Linked DNA regions of Homo sapiens: regions 2, 3 and 4 are each linked to region 1. Evidence: promoter capture Hi-C in 16 types of primary human blood cells and fetal thymus (Javierre and others, 2016). All regions are on one chromosome and are shown on one strand. Each heading gives the region's core, a stretch centred on a gene start or on the middle of the fragment in contact. The rest is flanking DNA. Distances are from core to core; before and after follow the strand shown. Region 1 holds the start of NHLH1 (nescient helix-loop-helix 1). Region 2 has its middle 33 kb from the start of F11R. Region 3 holds the start of LOC101928372 (a long non-coding RNA gene). Region 4 has its middle 22 kb from the start of ITLN1.

Region 1 (5,656 bases), core at 2,278-4,777:
TGCCACTTCAGGGTTCCATGGTCAGGGTGCCAGTCTGAAGCCTGAAAAAGAGAAGAGAGAAGTGATAGCAGCGGAGGGAGGAGGGAATGCTCAGCTCAGAGGTGGGAAAGCAGGTTTGAGATGGGCTGGGAGGGGTAAGGAACTGTGAATGTGAGGGAAGAACAGCAGAAACTGGTGGGGGTCGGGGGGTGGGGAGAGGCCGAGAGACAGAGAGGCAGGTGGACAGGGTGAAAGGAAGAGGAGGACGAAAGGTAGTAAGAAGGGAAGAGAAAACGAGTAACAGGAAAGGAACAGAAGTGATGAGAAGGATACACCAGGCAGGTTAAAACTGAGCAAGAGGATTAAAGACTTAAAACCATAAAACTCCTAGAAGAAAACATAGGGAGAGACCTTCATGATGTTGGACTCAGCAGTGATTTCTTGGAAATGACACCAAAAGCACAGGCAACAAAAAGCAAAAATAGAAAAAACGGGACCACATCAGACTTTAATTTATTGACGAACATAATCAACAGAGTGAAAAGGCAATCTATGGAATGGGAGAAAATATTTGCAAATTATATATCTGATAAGGGGTTAATATCCAGAACATATAAATAAATCCTACAACTCAACAACAGCAAAAAATCAAATAACCCAATTTAAAAATGGGCAAAGGAGGGATTGGGAGGGGCGTGAAATGAGAAATTACAGAATGGGTACCGTGTATGTTATTCAGGTGATGGACATCCTAAGAGCCCTGACTTGACCATTATGCAATCTATGCATGTAACAAAATTGCACTTGTACCCCATAAATTTATATAAATAAACATTTTTTAAGAAAAAAATGGGTAAAGGACTAGAATACACATTTCTCCAAAGATTTTATACAAATGGCCAACAAGCATATGAAAAAATGTTCAACATCACTAATCATTAAAATGCAAATCAAACCCACTATGAAATATCACTTCATACCCATTAGGATGGCTACTATAAAAACAAAAACCAAACAAACAAAAAATAAGTCTTGGCAAGGATGTGGAGAAATTGGAACCCTTATGCCTTGTTGGGATTGCAAAATGATGCAACCACTATGGAAAACAGTATAAATGTTCCTCAAAAAATAAAAAATAGAACTACCATATGCTCCAGGAATCCTACCTCTGGGTATATATACAAATAAAGTAGGGTGTCAAAGAGATATTTGCACACTCATGTTCATAGCAGCACTATTCACAATAGCCAAGAGGTAGAAGCAACCCAAATGTCCATCAATAGACAACAGATAAACAAAATGTATTATATACATACAGTGGAATATTATTCAGCCCTAAAAAGGAAGTTCTGTCACATGCTACAGCATGAATGAACCTTGAGGATATGATGATAAGTGAAATAAACCAGTAACAACACAAATACTGTATAGCTCCACTTATATGAGGTATTTAAAGTAGTCTAATTCATAGAAACAGAAAGTAGAATGGCCGTTGCCAGGGGCTGGAGGGAGGGGGTAAAGGGGAGTTGTTGTTTAGTGGGTATAGAATTATACATTTGCAGGATGAAAAATTGCTAGAGATCTGTTTCACAACAATGTGAATATACTGAACACTACTGAATTGTACACTTAAAAATGGTTAAGATTATAAATTGTATGCTGTTTTTTATCTAAATGAATAAATAAAAGGAGGAAAAAATCTGAGCAAGACTGCAGCCACAGCCCCAAGAGAAGTTAGCTATGACTCTAGATGCTTCCCAGTTGTGAGGGGAGAATACAAGCCTTGGCCCTGTGGTCCCCTCCCTCTCAGGGCCCCTCTCCACCCTTGCTGCCTGAGGTGGAGGAGCGGATAAACACACAGATTGCCCATTGTAGAATAGACTAGGACATATGGAGCTCTGCGCAGCTGCCCCAGCTCTGCACAGCTCCCCTCCCAGTTCCCCAAACCTTCCCAGCAGAACCATTGTAGATATGAGATCCTGTCCACTAAAACCAGGGGAAGATATCTCTTCTCACCACCACCCCACTGTGCACAACCAGCCTCTTCCTCCACCTCTGTCTTCGAAATTTTCAGCCCTTGCCATTCCCTGGCCCTTTTGGAGGCTGGGCAAGGAAGATTGGGGAAAGGGAACATAATCAACCTTCTACCCCCATACTCTCCCATAGCCCAAGGAAGGTTCAGACACGGCCTGCAGAGGACACAGACAGATTTTTGGAGCTACCCTTATGGGACTCAGCTAAGGTTTGCTTGTCCTAGGACCAGAGGAGATCAGGGCAAGGCAGCACAAACATGGCCTGGGAAAAGCTGGGGAAAGGGCTTTGCTTGTGTGCAGTGTTAAAGGGGAACAGTGGGCCACTCACCATCAGCTCAACTAAGAATGATTAGAAACAGAAGCACCAAGGTGCCTGCACCATCACTATCTCCCCTTCCTCCCCAGCCCTGGCTTTCCTGTCTGATAGATACTCTCAAAGGGGTTAGGATCCTCCCAAGCCTTGCCCCACCCCACCACACAGAAGATAGGTTCAAGTCAAGCCAACAAACAGCTATGAAGCTCTGGAGGGATGCAAAGTCATCCACATCTGATGACAAGTACACACACAATCTTAACAGGAAACAGAAGGTGGTTAGTGCTGAAATTGAGAACACATTCCATATTCTGGGGTTCAAATGAACTATGGGGGGATGGCAATAGTGTGGGAGGCCCCAAAGTCAGCACCTCCCAGTACATGTTTAGTGCCCCCAACTCCCCACCCCCCATGCTGGGGCTGGGAGCAGGAGTTCAGCTGCGGAGTTCCCAACACATTTATCACATCTATCACAGGCTAATTCTCTCTGCCCGGTCCCTATGTTCCTTCATCCCTCATCACTTTGCCATGCCCTTCCTTCCCCTCTCCGTGCTCCCCATCTGGCCCCAGTCTCATCTCCACCTGGCCCCATTGTCCTCCCCAGTTCCAGTCCCGGCAGCAGCTTCTATTTACCCATCAAGTCCTCACCCCCAAATCCACTTCTGGTCTCAAAGTTCCAGGGTCCAAGGATCAGGGGAGCAGCAATTCCAAGCCTGCAGGACAGGACTTCCCACCCCACTTCTGCCAGCCCTAACCCAACTGAGGATAGATAGGCACAAAGAGTCGAAGGGGAGGAGTGGAGAAGAGGGACACGCGGAGACAGGGAGAGACACAGCGCACAAGGGAGAGAACTAGAGGGAGGCTCTAGGAAGGGGCTTGAGCCAGAGAATGGGAGGGACACGCCCATCCCTCCCCGCCCATGGTTTCCCCTTTACCTAGAAGGACCCTGTCAGGGGATCCAAGCCGGCAGGACAAGGGGCAGCGTTGACAGCCCCAGTCTCCTCTGGGTGCTCAAGGCTCATCCGTCTGCAAAGTTAGTGACCAGCTTTCTAGACTCTCAGGGGTAGCGTGGCATGGCTGTACAGGCTCCAGGGCAGATAAGAGGGGTACACATTGTGGGGGTGTAGGGCCCAGGTGGAAGTGGTGGGCTTGGCCAGGTACTGGGGCCAGCCACACTCACACACACACCCTCAGACACACACACCTGAGCTGGCCCAGCCCTATGTATATATATGGAGATACACACACACACCCCCAGCTCTCCATTGGCTGGCCCAGGCCCACCCCCCCCTCATCAATATTAAACAGCCAGGCCAGGCAGCCATTGGCAGAGGGATCTGGGAACCCCTCGGGAGCTGGGGGCGGGGGCTGGCCCTGGGTGGGGGCGGGGAGCGGGGGAGCAGGGACATCTGTTCTCCATGCATATTTCATAAGCAAGAAATGGAGAGCTGGGGAAGGGGTGGGGCTGGGGCGAGAGCCAGGGCAGGACCACAGATGAACCCCCTCAGTCTCCCACACCAGAGGCAGCAGGGCAGAGGCTCCCAGCAAGCTATGGTTAAGTGCCATGGCCCCATTCGGAGTCCCAGCGTGACTTGGACAGCCCCTTCCTGGTGTCTCTTTTTTCCTGAGAGGGAGACTCTTCAAGGTACTAACAGGGAAACCGAGAAAAGAGCAAGTGGGTAGCACTAAAATGCAGAAGAGGACCCTAGGGTCCTGGCCCTCAAGCTCTTATCCTTCATAAAGCTGGTACCCACTGCTTGCCAGCCTGCCTGTAGCAACTGTTCAGGCCCCTACCCTCATCACCCTGGGACTCAATCACCCCCATACCCTCTTACCCCACCCGCTATCTTCCTACCTAACCCATCACCAAGGGGAGGAGCAGGATCAAATTTGGGACACAGACCCCACAAGGAGTTTTTCTAGGCTGGCCAGCCCAACCTGACCCACTGGGAATTAGAGGGCTCTTAGGAAGAAAGAGGTAAGGGCTAAAAGGAGAGGAGTGGAGGAGTGCCAAGACAGGAAGAACCAGGATTGGAAGGACACTGGGAGAGGAGGGCAGGGCAGCCTAGGCAGGCTCTGAGTGTGTTTTGAGGGCATCAAATCAGCAATAAGAAAACCAGACACAAAATTATATGCAAATGGGCACTGATTAAGCTCCCATCAATAGCTCAGCAGCCTCCAGCATGTATATGCAAGTGTGTGTGAATGTGAATGTAAGTGTGAGTGTGTGTGTGTATGTGTGTGTTGCCGAGTGGCAGGATTGAGGAGGGGCAGCACAGGGACCAGAGTGCATAGAGAGACAGTGCATAGAGGGTTTCAGTGTCTGAAGTTCTCTCCCCACTCAGCTGTTGGATGTCTTCTCTGAACCTTTGAGAGTATTCAAAAGAACCATGACTGGAGAGGACTCCAGAGGTAGTGTGGTACAGTGAAAAAGGCTCTGTCAGCTGTGTGACCTTGGACAAATAACAACCTTTTGAGCCTGGACCTCTTTTCCTGTAAAATGGGGTTGATTATAGCTGCTTCTTAGGTTGCCATGGAAATTAAGGGAGATAATATGTGTAGTGGGCCTAGAGCTTAGTAGGAGCACATCCCACCTTCAGGCTGGAGGGACTTGCCATTTCCCTGTTGCTGGTCAACCTTTTCTGGGCTTTCTCCAGGGTGAAGCATTCCCTAAGGGGGTCCCATAATTCCTCCCCAAGCTCCCCCACCTGCCCCCATCCCTGAGTCTGGGAGGTGCCAACTCCCACCTGGGCAGGCCCAGACAGGTGCCCAGGCGCCAGCAGATGGGCTGAGCTGGAGGGGAAAGGAGGCTTGAGGAGGGGGGCTGGGGGGCAGGGGATCAGGTGGCATCTCAGTTCTTGCATCATCATTGCCATGGTGCTGATTAAAAACCAATCTCCACCTAATGAGCCCCCAGCAACAACAATTCTACCTCCTCCACTCTCCTGCCCTCCACCCCATCCAAGAAATTGGGAGACCAAGAGACTCAGGAGAGAGTGCCATGGGGGAGATGAGAGATACAGAAAGAAGGGGAGATGAACAGAGACAGGGGAAGCGGAGGGAAACGACGAGAAAGACACGGGAAGATACCGAGACTCAGGGAGAGAAAAAAATGAGAAACCAGAGTCATTGGGTAACAGACATGGGAAAGACATAGGGAAATGGGAAGACACAGTCTCATGGGGAGATTGAGACACAAAGGAGGTAAAAAGATTTAAAAAAAAAAAAAAAAAAAAGAATGGAAACAGAATTGCCAGGTTGCCAAGGCTTTGTGGAAGACTTGGAGACCCAAGCTATGGGAGAGATAGAGACTTGGGGAGAGGCTTTAAAA
Region 2 (5,656 bases), core at 2,251-4,750, 620 kb before region 1:
CCCTGAATTTTTCAAAGTTGCCACCACCAACACTTTGTTCTTAGTGTGTGGACAGTAGAGCAGGTTGAAGGGCCAAAAAACAAACAAGCAAGCAAGCAAACAAACAAACCAACAAACCAGCCTCATTTCCTTGTCTCTGGTATGTTGAGAAAGTGGACCCTAGAGTTCAGTACCACTCCTCCTACCTTTGAGCCCAACTCATGATTTAAGATGTTGAAGTGCCCAATAAGGACCACATGGAAGCCTCCCTCAAAGAGTGTGGCACATGCTGCAACCCATAGGAAAGGGATTAGAATGCAGGTTTTTTTTCCATTTAGGGAGGAAGGAGCAGGAAATTTAGTAGGTAAGTAAAAGTAAGTACAAAGGCACAGCTACGAAGAAAAGGTACTTTTTCTGCAACTAGATATGCTACCACTAGGTGGAGCCAGACTCTCCTGGCATGGAACTTTTTTTTTTTTTTTTTTTTGACACGGAGTCTCGCCCTTGTCGCCCAGGCTGGAGTGCTGTGGCGCGATCTCGGCTCACTGCAACCTCCACCTCCCGAGTTCAAACAATTCTTCTGCCTCAGCCTCTCGAGTAGCTGGAATTACACGCGCCCGCCACCACACCTGGCTAAATTTTTTTGTAGTTTTAGTAGAGACGGGGTTTCACCATGTTGGCCAGGCTGGTTTTGAACTCCTGACCTCAAGTGATCCGCCCGCGTCGGCCTTCCAAAGTGCTAGGATTACAGGCGTGAGCCACCACGCCCAGTCTGACATGGAACTTCTAAACAGTGATGCTACGTAACAGGCCTGGTTCGCTGGAGATAAGTAAGAGGGGATAAAAATAGTTAACCTTACCTATCTGATTGGCAAAAATTCAAAAGCTTGATAGGGAGTCTATCTGAGCCTGGGCAGGTTCTGGAAGCTGCCCAATTTAAAAAAAACAATGGCGCCTGGTGCGGCGGCTCACGCCTGTAATCTCAGCACTTTGGGAGGCCGAGGCAGGTGGATCACGAGGTTAGGAGTTCAAGACCAGCCTGACCAACATGGTAAAACCCCGTTTCTACCAAAAATACAAAAATTAGCTGGGCGTGGTGGCACGCGCCTGTAATCCCAGCTACTGAGGAGGCTGAGGCAGGACAATCGCGTGAACCCAGGAGGCGGAGGTTTCAGTGAGCCGAGATCACGCCACTGCACTCCAGCCTGGGCAACAGAGCAAGTCTCCGTCTCAAAAAAAAAAAAAAAAAAAAAAAGGAAAATAAAAGACAAATGGCTGGGCATGGTGGCTCACACCTATAATCCAAGCACTTTGGAAGGCTGAGGTGGAAGGATTGCTTGGGGCCAAGAGTTTGAGACTAGCCTGGGCAACAAAGTGAGACCCTGTCTCTATGAGAAAATTAAAAAAAAAAAGGCCACCTTTTTGATACGAAAGGAGGGGAAATAAGAAAGCATACTATATTTGCTTATTTTTGCAGAAACAAACACAGGAAGGAAAATAAACTAAATTGGTTATTTCAAGAGGTAGATAAGGTCTAGATGAAATAGATACATGATCGGCCGGGCGCGGTGGCTCACACCTGTAATCCCAGGACTTTGGGAGACTGAGGCGGGCGGATCACGAGGTCAGGAGATCGAGACCATCCTGGCTAACACGGTGAAACCCAGTCTCTACTGAAAATACAAAAAATTGGCCGGGCGTGGTGGTGGGCACCTGTAGTCCCAGCGACTTGGGAGGCTGAGGCAGGAGAATGGTGTGAACCCCAGAGGCGGAGCTTGCAGTGAGCCCAGATCGCGCCACTGCACTCTAGCCTGGGCGACAGAGCGAGACTCTGTCTCAAAAAAATAAAAATAAAAATAGATACATGATGGAGTATTACTTCTCTGAGTTTATTTACCATTTTGTCTAGTTTTGACTTCTGGATCCATGTTAATGTTTTGCACATTAAAAAAAGTTGACAAGAAAAAATATGCAGAACATGCTTGTCCTCAGGCTTGTCAGAGACTCCTATAACCATATAAAGAAGCTGAGGGTTGATCATGCTTGAGCTATGATACTTATTAAAATAGTACTAGAAAGACAAATAGAATGTAGCATGGCAAAAGAGCTGCACATTTTGGGAGAAGGCATTTATTTGTAGGGGCTGAAATGTGCTAGCTCGAGAATCAGACCTAAGAATTACAAGGTGATTAACCAAAGGAAAAAGTCTCTGGAAGTAGAAAACTAAAAAGAAGGTTTGGAACAGGCTGGAAGTGAGATTGAAGCATATCACAGAAATGTTAGACATTCTTCAATGTCAGTGCCTTGGATGAATTTATAAGGCTTTGCCTTAAAGTTACTTGTGGGCTTATAAAGCCTGTGTCAAAGCTAAACAAAGCCAGACAATAGTTTAGACAAGAAGTAAGGATAGGTATTTATTTATTTATTTGAGATGGAGTTTCACTCTTGTCGCCCAGGCTGGAGGGTAATGGCGCGATCTTGGCTCACCGCAACCTCCGTGTCCGGGGTTCAAGCGATTCTCCTGCCTCAGCCTCCTGAATAGCTGGGATTACAGGCATGCACCACCACGCCCGGCTAATTTTTTTGTATTTTTAGTGGAGACAGCGTTTCTCCATGTTGGTCAGGCTGGTTTTGAACTTTTGACCCCAGGTGATCTGCCCACCTCGGCCTCCCAAAGTGTTGGGATTACAGGCGTGAGCCACTGCACCCGGCCTAGGATAGGTTTTTTTAAGTAGTAACTATTGCAGTAGGGAAGAGGGCCCAAGGTGAACTGAACTTAACTTCCTTAAAAAAAAAAAAAATGCAGGAGGCCTTTTGAAGGCTGGGATGTGCTAAGGGATAGGCATGAAGATATTAAGGAGAATTGCTCCATGTGACTAGACAATCTGGATTTGTGAATTGGCTCTTGTCCAGAAGAGAAATAAGCACCTATTTTTACGACAGGAGCTAGTAGTGCAAGTTAGAGCAAGGCACCCACCTGGTTGGGAGCTGGAGCAAGATTTATTTCCTCAAATGTTTGCATTTCAAAGAAACTCTCAGGTCCCAGTGAAAATAGCTCTGGGTAGAAGATTTACATCTCAAAGAGGCAGAGAAAGATGTTTTAATTGCAAGCTTTCTTTCTAAGTAATTGCACTAAGATGAAGTTCAGGGGCCTGTGTCTATTGCTAGGTTTGGGCTGGGATGCACAGTAAATTTTTCTGACAGCGATGAGCTTTTTCAGGCAGGCATTTTAAGCGGGGGGCTGAGGTCCTCCTAGGGACAAGGCCTTAAGTTGCTAGAAGCCATGCTAGAGCTTGGTTAAGGAGAGTCTTTGTTACCTGGCGTCTCTCTGCAGTGCCGTTTCAATGCCTTAGAGCAAGAGAGTGGTGGATGGACAGTGATAGTGATTCACGTGCGCAATTCACAACTTGCATTAGCAACCAGGCAAAAGCAAGTGCTGCTTTTAGAGGCCTTGGGAAGAATTTCCACAAGTTTCCGGCCATTGGGATACAGGGGAAAAGGGATTGGAGGGAGGCTCATCGGGAACAATACATTAGGTAATGTTGGGGTTTATAAATCGATACCCCCAAATATAGTACTGAACCGAAGAAGCAACCTGAAGATCTCTCTGACCTTCCCCGCTCCACACGGTCTCTCCCAAAAAGCTGAAGTTCCTTTATTTGCCTAAGATCCAGACCCTCCAAGGAGAACAGTAGGTTTCTTTTCCTCCTGTAAGACCAAAAATGTAACCACACCTGAACAGACCTTTTCATGAGTTAATGCCTGCTTCTCATGGTCATCTAAATTCCAAAGAAAACTATTTACAAGTTAATTTGTTTCCTGATCAAATCATTCTCTTTAGTAATCATTTATTGCCCATCAACAGAATTCCTTTTCTCCCGCAGGATCCAAACTCATTCTTTCTGTAACCTCATGATGGCGTATAAGCTTTTGCACCTCACTGGGAGGTTGGGTCTTCATTCTGAAGGCTTCTATGTATACATATTAAATAAGTTTGTATGCCTTTTTTCCTATTAATCTGCCTTGCGTCAGTGATTTTCAGCAAACTTCAGGGAGCCAAAGGCCTTGGCTCCCACAGTGATAATAAACAATATGACTTTTGGCTATCAAAATTCCTGCTGTTAGTTAAGGAAAAATTGTGACAGTTTCTGAAATGGACAAATACAGGCATCCTTCCAGTGGATTACTAGGATTTGTCTAGACTAGAGGACAGGATGCTTCTGGGGGTTTTCTGATTCTCTACAGGTCAGTATCCTTCCTTGTCTTGTACTGTTTTGCAACTCTAGAAAGAAAAGTTAAATATGTAGAAGCCTGACAGTGATACAAATGATCCCTGTTCATATTAATACAAATGCAAATTGTTTGCCTGGTAGAGATACAATTGATTTTCTCTCTGTAGAAAAAAAGATGATCCCAGCCAGGCGTGGTGGCTCACCCTGCAATTCCAGCACTTTGGGAGGCCGAGACAGGCAAATCACAAGGTCAGGAGTTCGAGACCAGCCTGGCCAATATGGTGAAACCCTGTCTCTACTAAAAATACAAAAATTAGCCAGGCGTGGTGGTGGGCGCCTGTAATCCCAGCTACTCTGGAGGGTGAGGCAGGAGAATTGCTTGAATCTGGGAGGCGGAGTTTGCAGTGAGCTGAGTCCTCGCCATTGCATTCCAGCTTGGGCAACAGAGTGAGATTACATCTCAAAAAAAAAAAAAAAAAAAAAAGAATCCCAGAAATTAAATGTTTTATATTTTTGCCACAAGAAAACACGTGCAAGTATGAAACTTTTTGTAAGGTCCTCTGAGCTGGCTGCACTATGGTCAAGCCACGGTGACATTCCCCCACCCTTGTGATAATGTACTTTGTGATACTCCTGTCCTTGTGAATGTACTTTGTAACATTCCTCCCCACCCTTGTGACAATACATCCTCCCTGCCCTTGTGACAATACACCCTCCCTGCCCTTGTGAATGTACTTTGTAACATCCTCCCCACCCTTGAGAATGTACTTTGTAATATCCATCCCCTGCCTGTAAAAAATTGCTCCTGACTACACCGCCTATCCCAAACCTATAAGAACCAATGATAATCCCACCACCTTTTGCTGACCCCTTTCTCGGACTCAGCCCACTCACACACAAGTGAATAAACAGCCATGTTGCTCACACTAAGCCTGTTCAGGTGGTCTCTTATGTGGACACGCATAACACTTTTATTATTATTATTATTAAAAAAGTAATAATAAAAAGAGACAGAGTTTTGCTCTTGTTGCCCAAGCTGGAGTGCAATGGCGTGATCTTGGCTTGCTGCAACCTCTGCCTCCTGGGTTCAAGCAGTTCTCCTGCATCAGCCTCCCAAGTACCTGGGACTACAAGCGTGCACCACCACGCCTGGCTAATTTTTTGTATTTTTAGTAGAAACGGGGTTTCACCATGTTAGCCAGGCTGGTCTCGAACTCTTGACCTCAGGTGATCCACCCGCCTTGGCCTCTCAAAGTGCTGGATTACAGGTGTGAGCCACCACGCCCAGCCGAAACTTTTATTTTTTATTTTTTTATTTGTTTGAGATGGAGTCTCTTGTTGCCTAGGCTGGAGTGCAATGGTGCGATCTTGGCTCACTGCAACCTCTGCCTCCTGGGTTCAAGCAATTCTCCTGCCTCAGCCTCCCGAGTAGCTGGGACTACAGG
Region 3 (2,967 bases), core at 36-2,535, 560 kb before region 1:
GTGGAGGCTTTTCTTGCTTTGTGCCCCACTTAAAATTGGCCTAGATGAAAGCAGCAGGCTCACATGTTATATGTGTTGCTTTCAAAATCCAGAGACCAACCCTGACCCAGTATTGTTTTTCACCTTGGAAAGATCATTCTGACATAGAAAATTCACTGATATGGCATATTCTGCATATAGCCTGCCAATTCTTTGGTAATTCCCCCCACCCCACCAAATTTGGGCGGGCTTAGTGACTAAGTTTTCATGAAAAGAATATGGCAGAAGTGTGACCTCTGAGACTGCATCCTAAAAAATGATACAGCTTCTTCCTGGCTTTCTCTTTCTTAGGACTTGTGCCTTCGGATCCTGATTTATTAAGTGAGAAGTCCACTATCCTGAAGCTGCTATGCTGGAGAGACCATGTGAAAAGATCATATAGAAGTAGAAAGATGCCCAAGAAGCCATATATGCTTCTTTCTGTAGCTGTTTCAGTCTGCCCACCCAGGGATCGGACATGTTAGAGAAAGAGTCTTAAAGATTATCCCAACCCCAGCCACCATGTGACTGCAACCTCATGAAAACCCCACACCAGAACAGTGGTATCAGCTCAAACTTTGCAAGGGCTAGGAGACTGAGGGCAGCTGACCAGATTTATGTGATTGAGCCTAATAAACTGGCCTGAGTAAGCTTCCCTGGTTGACAATATTCTGCGAGTATTATCACACACTGGATGTCAGGAAATTAACACTGTCCACAACTCATGGAAAGGACAACTGGGAGTTCTGTGTTTAGAGCTTTCCTGAACTCTGCCCTATGTACCCCTTCCCTTGGCTGATTTTAACCTGTATTCTTAGCTGCAATAAACCGTAACTTTCCATGAGCACTGTGAGTTTGTCTTGTGAATTATTAAACTCACGGGTGGTCTTGGGGTCCCCCCAAGCTGACAATTAATGTCAGAGAGGAGGAGGATATTGGGGGACCCCAACCTTGCAATCGGTGTCAGAAGTGAGGGTGGTCTTGTGGGCTGCTCCTCTAACAATGTATCCAGCATAACCTTGATATGAAAATCTCACAAGAGTATCACAAGAAAAGATAATTATAAGCCAACCACCCTCATGACTGTATATGCAACAATTCTAAACAGGATATTAACAAACCTACATATGAATTTGAGAGGACATAAATGTTCAGATCATAGCATTGCTGAGCATTCTGTATGAATATAGACATAATTCAAGACCAAGACTGATGATTGCTATTGTGAGTTGAACTGTGTTCCCTAAAGTGGTATGTTAAAGTCCTAATCCAAGGTACCTGTGAATGTGACCTTATTTGGAAATGAGATTTTTGCAGATGCAACTATTTAAAATGCAGTTATAGTGGATTAGGGTGGGCCCTAATTCCAATATAACTAATATCCTTATAAGAAGAGAAGAGACACAGATGCAGAAACACACACAGATGGAAGGCAGCTGTATGAAGACGGAGGCAGAGAAGGGAGTTATGTGGCCACAAATCAATAAATACCAAGGATTGGCCAGGCATGGTGCCTCATACCTGTAATCCCAGTACTTTGGGAGGCTGAGGTGGGATGATTGCTTGAGCCCAGGAGTTTGAGACCAGCCTGGGCAAAAAATACAGTGAAACTCCATTTCTATCAAAACCAAAAGCAAACAAACAAAAAACCCAAGGATTGCTTTCTACCTGAAGCTGGATGAGGCAAGAGAAGATCCTCCTGCAGAGTCTTTGGACAGAGCACAGTCCTGCTGATGCCTTAATTTTGGACTTCTCACCTCTGAAATAGAGTAATTTCTTAAAAAGCCACCTAGGTTGTGACAATTTGTTATGGCAACCCTAGGAAACTGACACAATTGTGTCATTGTTTTTTTCTCTCTACTAGTTTTAAAATTGTAAGCTTTTTTTCTATCCTTTTAGTGGCTGCTCTAGAACTAACAGCAGGCTTCATGAATGTTTTCTAATCACAAATTTGTGTGTTTATTTCTTTTAAAAGCATTAATTGCGAGCCTATTATGTGCCAGAACATATTCTAGATGCTGGGGATATAGCAACAAGTCAGGTACACATTTCTGCCTTTCTGGAGATTGTACCCTAGTACCAGGAAATATACAATATGCTATAAAAATAAATAATAGAATGTCAAGTTTTTATTTATTTATTTATTTTTATTTTTTTAAACCAGGTCTCCTTATGTTGCCCAGCTGTTCTTGAACTCCTGGGCTCAAATGATCCCCCCGCTTCAGCCTCCCAAAGTGCTGGGATTACAGGCATGAGCCACCACACCCAGACTAGAATGTTAAGTTTGAAAAGTGCTATGGAGAAAAAGAAAGTTGAGTAGCGACATAGATATATTGGGGGTGGTGGTGGTTTACAACTTTAATAGATCTTTAAAGAAGACTTCAGTGAGAAGGTGACATTGAGGAAGGATCTGAAGAAGGTGAGGGATTGAGCCATAAAGTACCAGGCAGAGGGAATAGCAACTGCCAAGGTATTGAGATGGGAGTATCTTCACTGCGTTCAGGGAGCTGCAGGGAGATTTGGCTAGCAGAAGCTGCATAAGTATGGAGGAAAGCAGCAGGTCATGACAGCACAAAGGTAAGATGGGAGCAGATTGTGTAGGATATTGTGGGCCTTCTGGGCAAGACTAGAAGCCTTCAGAGAGGTCTGAGTAGGAGGGTAGCCTGATTTAACAGGATGACTTTGGCTGTGTTGAGGATATACTGAAGACTGCCAAGAGCAGAAGCAGAGAGACCAATGAGGAGACTTGCAGCCAGCCAGGGGATGCTAGTGGCTTAGAAGAGGATGAAAGCAGTAGGATTGTGAATGGTGGTCAGGTTAGACTATTTTGAAGGTGAGGCTGACTTACTCATTCACTTGCTGCTATTTTTAAGTGATAGCTTTTTTTTTTTTTGGACAGAGTCTCGCTCTGTCACCCAGGCTGGAGTGCAGTGGCGTGATCTCGACTCA
Region 4 (5,656 bases), core at 901-3,400, 540 kb before region 1:
TTTAACTATGTAACATTTTGATGAGACAAGCATGTAGCGTACCAACTACTGGAAGAGAAAGTAATACTATATAAGGATTGATTCTGTTCTATGTTAGGAATACCCTGCCCAGACAAAATTATCTAGGGGTGTGTAGTACAAATCAGGACTGTATCAGTAACATTATTGTGCAAGGAGAGGGTATAGTTGCCACTGCTGTAAATGTAATCACCATACAAAACAACGCATTCAAAAAAGGGAAGACCTAGTCTCCAAATTTGGGTATGAGCAGGGCTTAAAGCTTGCTTCCCTTTTAGTTGTAATATTGGTCCTGAAAGCCCATACTCTGACCAGGTGATGGAACTATTGGAGGACTCCCAAATCCAATAGTCTGATTTGCAGACATAAGATTAGCATGGGGACCCCAATCAAGTAAGGTGCCATTATTAAGCAGAGGCCCTTGTCGTGGCGCAGGTTGTCTGCATGGGGTTCACACTGGACAGCCTCAAACTTACATTGCCAGTCCCTTCTCAGACAGCATATAAGAAGACTAGGCACTTGTGTAGCTTCATTAGAGACCTTAGTGAGATTAATGGTAACAGCAGAAATAAAGGTCAAGTTTGCGGGCTTGGCATCCCTTTTGAGGTGACAGTAAAGATACTCCAGAGGAATAAGAGTAATGTGCTTATCATGGGCTATTGTAGAAAAACAAAGAAGGGGGTTGCTAGACAATAAAGTCAAGGAGTCATTGAGTTTAATCCATCCCAAATTTTCAGTTAAGGGGTAAGACAGGGGCATCCATCGACCTCCCATCCAAGAAGTATCATTAGATGACAAAGGCGGGTCAGCATCCCACCACATAATAACATTTCCAACAGTGGGATTCAGAATATGATTCCAGTAAACATGTTCTTGAGCTGATCCCACTTGGCAAAGGATGAGAATCACCAGCCACCCCAGCATCCATGTCTGTCTTACTTTCTCAAAAGCTCCCCCAATTACTGCCAGATACATAAGAAACCAATTCTCTGCAATTGCAGGGGCTCCCATGGCAACAAGCTGGATAGTTGCCTGTTGATCCAATTTCTTTAGCTGCCCTCAGGTAATGTCAGATGCCTTCCGAGTCATCGCTATCATTGCTGGTCGATTCTCCAACGACAGGTCTTTCATCATCAGGAGGGGTTCAGTTGTCTCCTACCTGTTCTCGAGGAGAAAGCCCAATATTCCCCCTTTTTTGTTTGTTAAGATATACTTTAAGAGTTTGATGAGCTCGCTCAACATTGGCCTGACTGGTTGAGTTATAAGGAATGCCAGTCTTGTGTTGTATGTGCCACAGTTGTAAATGCATATGTAAATCGAGCACTAAGACAGCAATGTCTATTATCAGTTTTTGTAATTTGTGGAAGGCCTAAAGTCATAATAGATTTAAAAAGATGAGCAATTGCATCTTTAGTTTTTTCTGTAGTCTGAGGAGTAGCATATTTCAGGCCTGTATAAGTGTCTACAGTAACGTGGAGAAATTTGAAGCATCTAAAGGGTGGATGCTGAGTAATATCAGTTTGCCAGATAGCATTAGGCACCAGACCTCGTGGGTTGGCACCAAGTCCTAACGAAAAAGGGGAGAGCGAATGCCATTGGCAGTCAGGACAGGTTTTAATAATCATGCGAGCTTGAGTGAGCGCCAAATAAAACTGTTGTTTAAGACTGTGGTTGTTCTGATAAAAAAAGGAATGATCAGCTTGAGCTTGCAAAAATGTAGGAGATTCTGTAAACCACGGAGCTTAGTGTTAATATGTGACTTTAGACAACAATGTTTTTATATTTTAGGAAGCTTGAAGCTAACAATATATTAAGACAATGATCTCTTTATAATTTACAATAAATAAAGTGAAAGTTTGTATTTTATATTGTTTAAAACATAAGAAGATTTTATTTGAAAAGACTTTTAAAAAAATATGAAGGCTTTCTCTTAGGGTAAGAATTATGTAATTATGTTGCCCAAGTAATACAGTGATGGAAACAAGACAATATTTTATCTTTCTTTTCTTCAGTTGAATGCTAATAGACAATAGTTTTTTGCTTAGCTAGGAGCTTAAATACTGTTTGGGAGAAGTGGGATATTTATTAGTGGGTTGCAGGGAATAAATGAAATCACCTTAGTAGAGGATGCTGCTATACTTTTATCAATGTCCACTGACATTGGTTTGAAAGTGGAAATCTTTTGTGTAAAGGCCTGGGGATTTTTTGCCTATATCTTAAGTATATCTCTGGGCTGGCAGCCCCTTAATATACTCAGAAAAGTAAAATATAGGTTACAAGATACTTTAAAAATTTATTTTGACTAGTGAGTTTGTTTCTAGTTGATTCACCTAATTAGAGATGTTACAAATCATTTTATATGATTGAACACATGTGAGTGTTGTTTTCCTGGAGACTGGGTTTCATTACAAGCATTCTGATTTGGGCCCCATTGAAGTTTTTCTTTCTCTAGCCCTTCTAAACTAAGCTTTTTAGAACTCACTCACAAGTTGTATGAATTTTGACAGACTTTTATTTTATCTTCTGATTTATTCCGTGTGCAGTGGATTTGAATAGCAGAGTTTTTTTATAGCTCTGCTGATGTGATGTTGGTCACTACGTGCAGCTTGCAATCAGTTGATAAATTCAACGTATGTTTCTGTGGCACTCTGTTTAACTGTTATAAAGGAATGTTTCTGTGGCACTCTGTTTAACTGTTATAAAGGAACCCTGGGATTGTCCCGTGGGTATCCTCTTCTATGCCTGTATTGCTAGCTGCAAGCATTGTGGAAATAGATGGCTGTTTATTTGAGCTTGAGCCTGAGCTCAAGCAAAAGGACCTGGTCCCAATAGCATATCAAGCTGTGTTGGGATATTATTATCCAAATTTTGCAAGGGCTGCTGCATGGATAGATCACTGTACTCACTCCACCGCACAGTATATTCTGCAGCTGAAACCAAAACTTTTACTAAAGTTTTCCAATCATGCGGAGTCATCTTATAGCCATTTCCCAGAGCCTCAATCATCCCCTGGGTAAAGGGTGAATGTACACCATTTTCACAGATACTTTTCTTTATCTCTTTAAAAACAGTAAAAGGCAAACTCTCATGCCGTCTCCTATCATTTTGAACAATGACAGGGAATGCGCCAAAAAGTGCCTAAGAGTCTCCCTTTTTAAGTCCCTCCTGGAGGCACCCCTCTACTAGGGAAGTTTGATGAGGAGTCGTCACTGAGAACGCGTTCACCTGATCATATATGTCAGGCCTCTGAGCCCAAGCTAAGCCAACATATCCCCTGTGACCTGCACGTATACATCCAGATGGCCTGAAGCAACTGAAGATCCACAAAAGAAGTGAAAATAGGCTAAACTGATGGCATTCCACCATTGTGATTTGTTCCTGCCCCACCCTAACTGATATGATATATTCTCCCCTGCCCTTAGGAAGGTACTTTGTAATATTCTCCCCGCCCTTGGGAATGTACTTTGTATGCCTATCCCAAACCTATAAGAACTAATGATAATCCCACCACCTTTTGCTGACTCTCTTTTCAGACTCAGCCCGCCTGCACCCAGGTGATTAAAAAGCTTTATTGCTCACATAAGCCTGTTTGGTGGTCTCTTCACACGGACGTGCGTGACAATATAGATGTTCACTGACAGGGGGTCTTATCCAAGAACCGTCCATCCCTTGGGTGGCCTCCAATCTCCTCCAGGGGGATGGGAGGCACTGTAGCCTGAACAGGGCCAATAGATGTGGATTTTTTTAGGGGTGGAGGAAAGGAGGGCAATGGCTTTTCTATTGGGGGAGGAAAAAGCTCCGGTCTGTCCTCATCATCACTAGAAAGTGTCCTCCTTATGCCCTACGGAAGGGAATGAAGTAGGGAGAGGAGCCCCTCCCTGTTGTTCTGGTTCCTGTTTTTCTTTAAATCTCCTGAATTCCCTTCAGGTGGAGCTAATGGGCAGTCTGACTCACCGCAATCTGGCATATAAAGAGGGTACAATGCAGAGCGTACCAGGGCCCAGGTGGTCAAAATGATAACCTTAGTAAAATGGCCCTGCCTAAATCCTGTTTTCAGGCAGTGATCCACCTCCTCCCATAACTCTAAGTCTAATGTTCCTTGATCAGGGAACCAAGAGCATTCCTGCTGAATAAAAAGCATAAGCTGATGCAAATCTTCAGACTCTAAGGTGCAGTGGATAGCCTTAAGTAATTGTTGCACCATTTTAAAAAATACTTTCTGCTCTTTGGTCAATTCCTGACCCATGATAGCCCAATCCCTGGTATTATATGCGTTGGTCCCATCTTCCTGAAATGGGTTGGGACTGTCCCTTACTGGTATTCCCTGAAGTTTGATGAGTTTTCATACTCCACGTGTAATTTCAACGCAGTTATGTCAGGGTCACCACTTGCAGCTTGTAGCTACAGCGAACGCCAAGAATGAAGTACTCAGAGAATTCCAGCTGAGCAGGGCAGGGAGTAGCTCTTCTGAGAGAGTGCCACTCTAAGATCTGTCTGCCAAGTATTTATTAAGAGGGCAACAAGCCCTCTCTAAATTGTAGTTCTAATTGTAATTGTAATTGTAATCTAAATTGTAATTGTACAAGAATTACAATTTAGACAACCAAGAGACATCCACTAGGTAACAATTTGCAGTTGGGTCATGAGGCACATACGGCCTTGTTTATTACATCTAAAATCACTCAGACCACATTCTCAGGAGGCTGTTTTCAGCGCTCCTTATCACACAACTCCTTATCACACAGCTCCTTATCACACATTCTGTTCCTTGCTCTGTTTTCAGGGTCAAGGAATTTCAGTCTCATGCCCAAAAAACATGCACACAGTGCTTCAGTATTTTGCCATACCTCGACCTCAAATGCCTTGTATAGAAGCTTGAATATGTTGCCATGTATCCCCTACAAGGTGCAAAAGATTGGCAATGAACTCCTTCATCTAGACATTTTGCTACATTTGTTTTCTCTCTCTCTCTCACTATGGTTTGTTGAAGAACTTAGAAAAGAGTTGCAAGTGTAACACTTTTTTTTTTTTTTTTTAGACAGAGTCTCCCTCTGTCACCCAGGCTGGAGTGCATTGGTACCGTCTTGGCTCACTGCAACTTCTGCCTCCTGGGTTCAAGCAAGTCTTCTGCCTCAGTCTCCCAAATAGCTGGGATTACAGGAGCCTACCACCATGCCTGACTAATTTTTTTGTATTTTTAGTGGAGAGAGGGTTTCACCATATTGGCCAGGCTGATCCTGAACTCCCGACCTCAGGTGATCTGCCCACCTTGGCTTCCCAAACTGTTGGGATTACAGGCGTGAGCCACTTTGCCCAGCCTGTGACACTTTACCTTTAATTATTTCAACATTAATCTCCTACATAATACAAATATAATTCAAGAAATTTTACATTAATAAAATACTAGTACTTAAGAGTAGCTTATATTAAATTTCACTAATTATTCCAATAATGTTCTTTATAGCTTTTTGTTTGATCCAGAATCCAACCAGGGATTATGCACTGCATTTATTTGTCGTGTGTACCTAGGTTCCTTTAATCTAGACTAGTAACTGAGATTATTTTTGGTCTTTAATGATATTATCATTTTTGAAGAGTCTAGGGGGTCAACTATTTTGCAGAATGTTCCTCAACTTGG

What was found. The method cuts DNA at HindIII sites, captures the fragments that hold promoters and counts their contacts. A CHiCAGO score of 5 or more calls a contact.
Region 2: a fragment that was not itself captured here is called in contact with the fragment with the promoter of NHLH1 in region 1 in 2 of 17 cell types (non-activated CD4 T cells and activated CD4 T cells); the score reaches 6.9 in non-activated CD4 T cells.
Region 3: a fragment that was not itself captured here is called in contact with the fragment with the promoter of NHLH1 in region 1 in 2 of 17 cell types (total CD4 T cells and total B cells); the score reaches 5.9 in total CD4 T cells.
Region 4: a contact is called between a fragment that was not itself captured here and the fragment with the promoter of NHLH1 in region 1, in 5 of 17 cell types (non-activated CD4 T cells, naive CD8 T cells, fetal thymus and 2 more). The highest score is 6.7, in non-activated CD4 T cells.

The regions. Positions count from the first base shown.
Region 1 is chr1:160,364,942-160,370,597 of GRCh38, reverse strand. It overlaps NHLH1 (nescient helix-loop-helix 1), which reads right to left and starts at 3,527. Exons shown (of 2, transcript NM_005598.4): 1 at 3,261-3,527; 2 at 1-41. The HindIII fragment of the contact is 14,453 bases long and covers 1-5,656 here.
Region 2 is chr1:160,985,197-160,990,852 of GRCh38, reverse strand. No RefSeq gene overlaps it. Among named protein-coding and RNA genes, the nearest start is that of F11R, 33 kb to the left of the region's middle. RefSeq lists a silencer at 3,160-3,454. The HindIII fragment of the contact is 816 bases long and covers 3,093-3,908 here.
Region 3 is chr1:160,929,541-160,932,507 of GRCh38, reverse strand. It overlaps LOC124904441 (a long non-coding RNA gene), which reads left to right. Exons shown (of 2, transcript XR_007066689.1): 2 at 331-862. LOC101928372 (a long non-coding RNA gene) reads right to left here and starts at 43. Exons shown (of 6, transcript NR_110695.1): 1 at 1-43. The HindIII fragment of the contact is 1,228 bases long and covers 672-1,899 here.
Region 4 is chr1:160,904,094-160,909,749 of GRCh38, reverse strand. No RefSeq gene overlaps it. Among named protein-coding and RNA genes, the nearest start is that of ITLN1, 22 kb to the right of the region's middle. The HindIII fragment of the contact is 675 bases long and covers 1,813-2,487 here.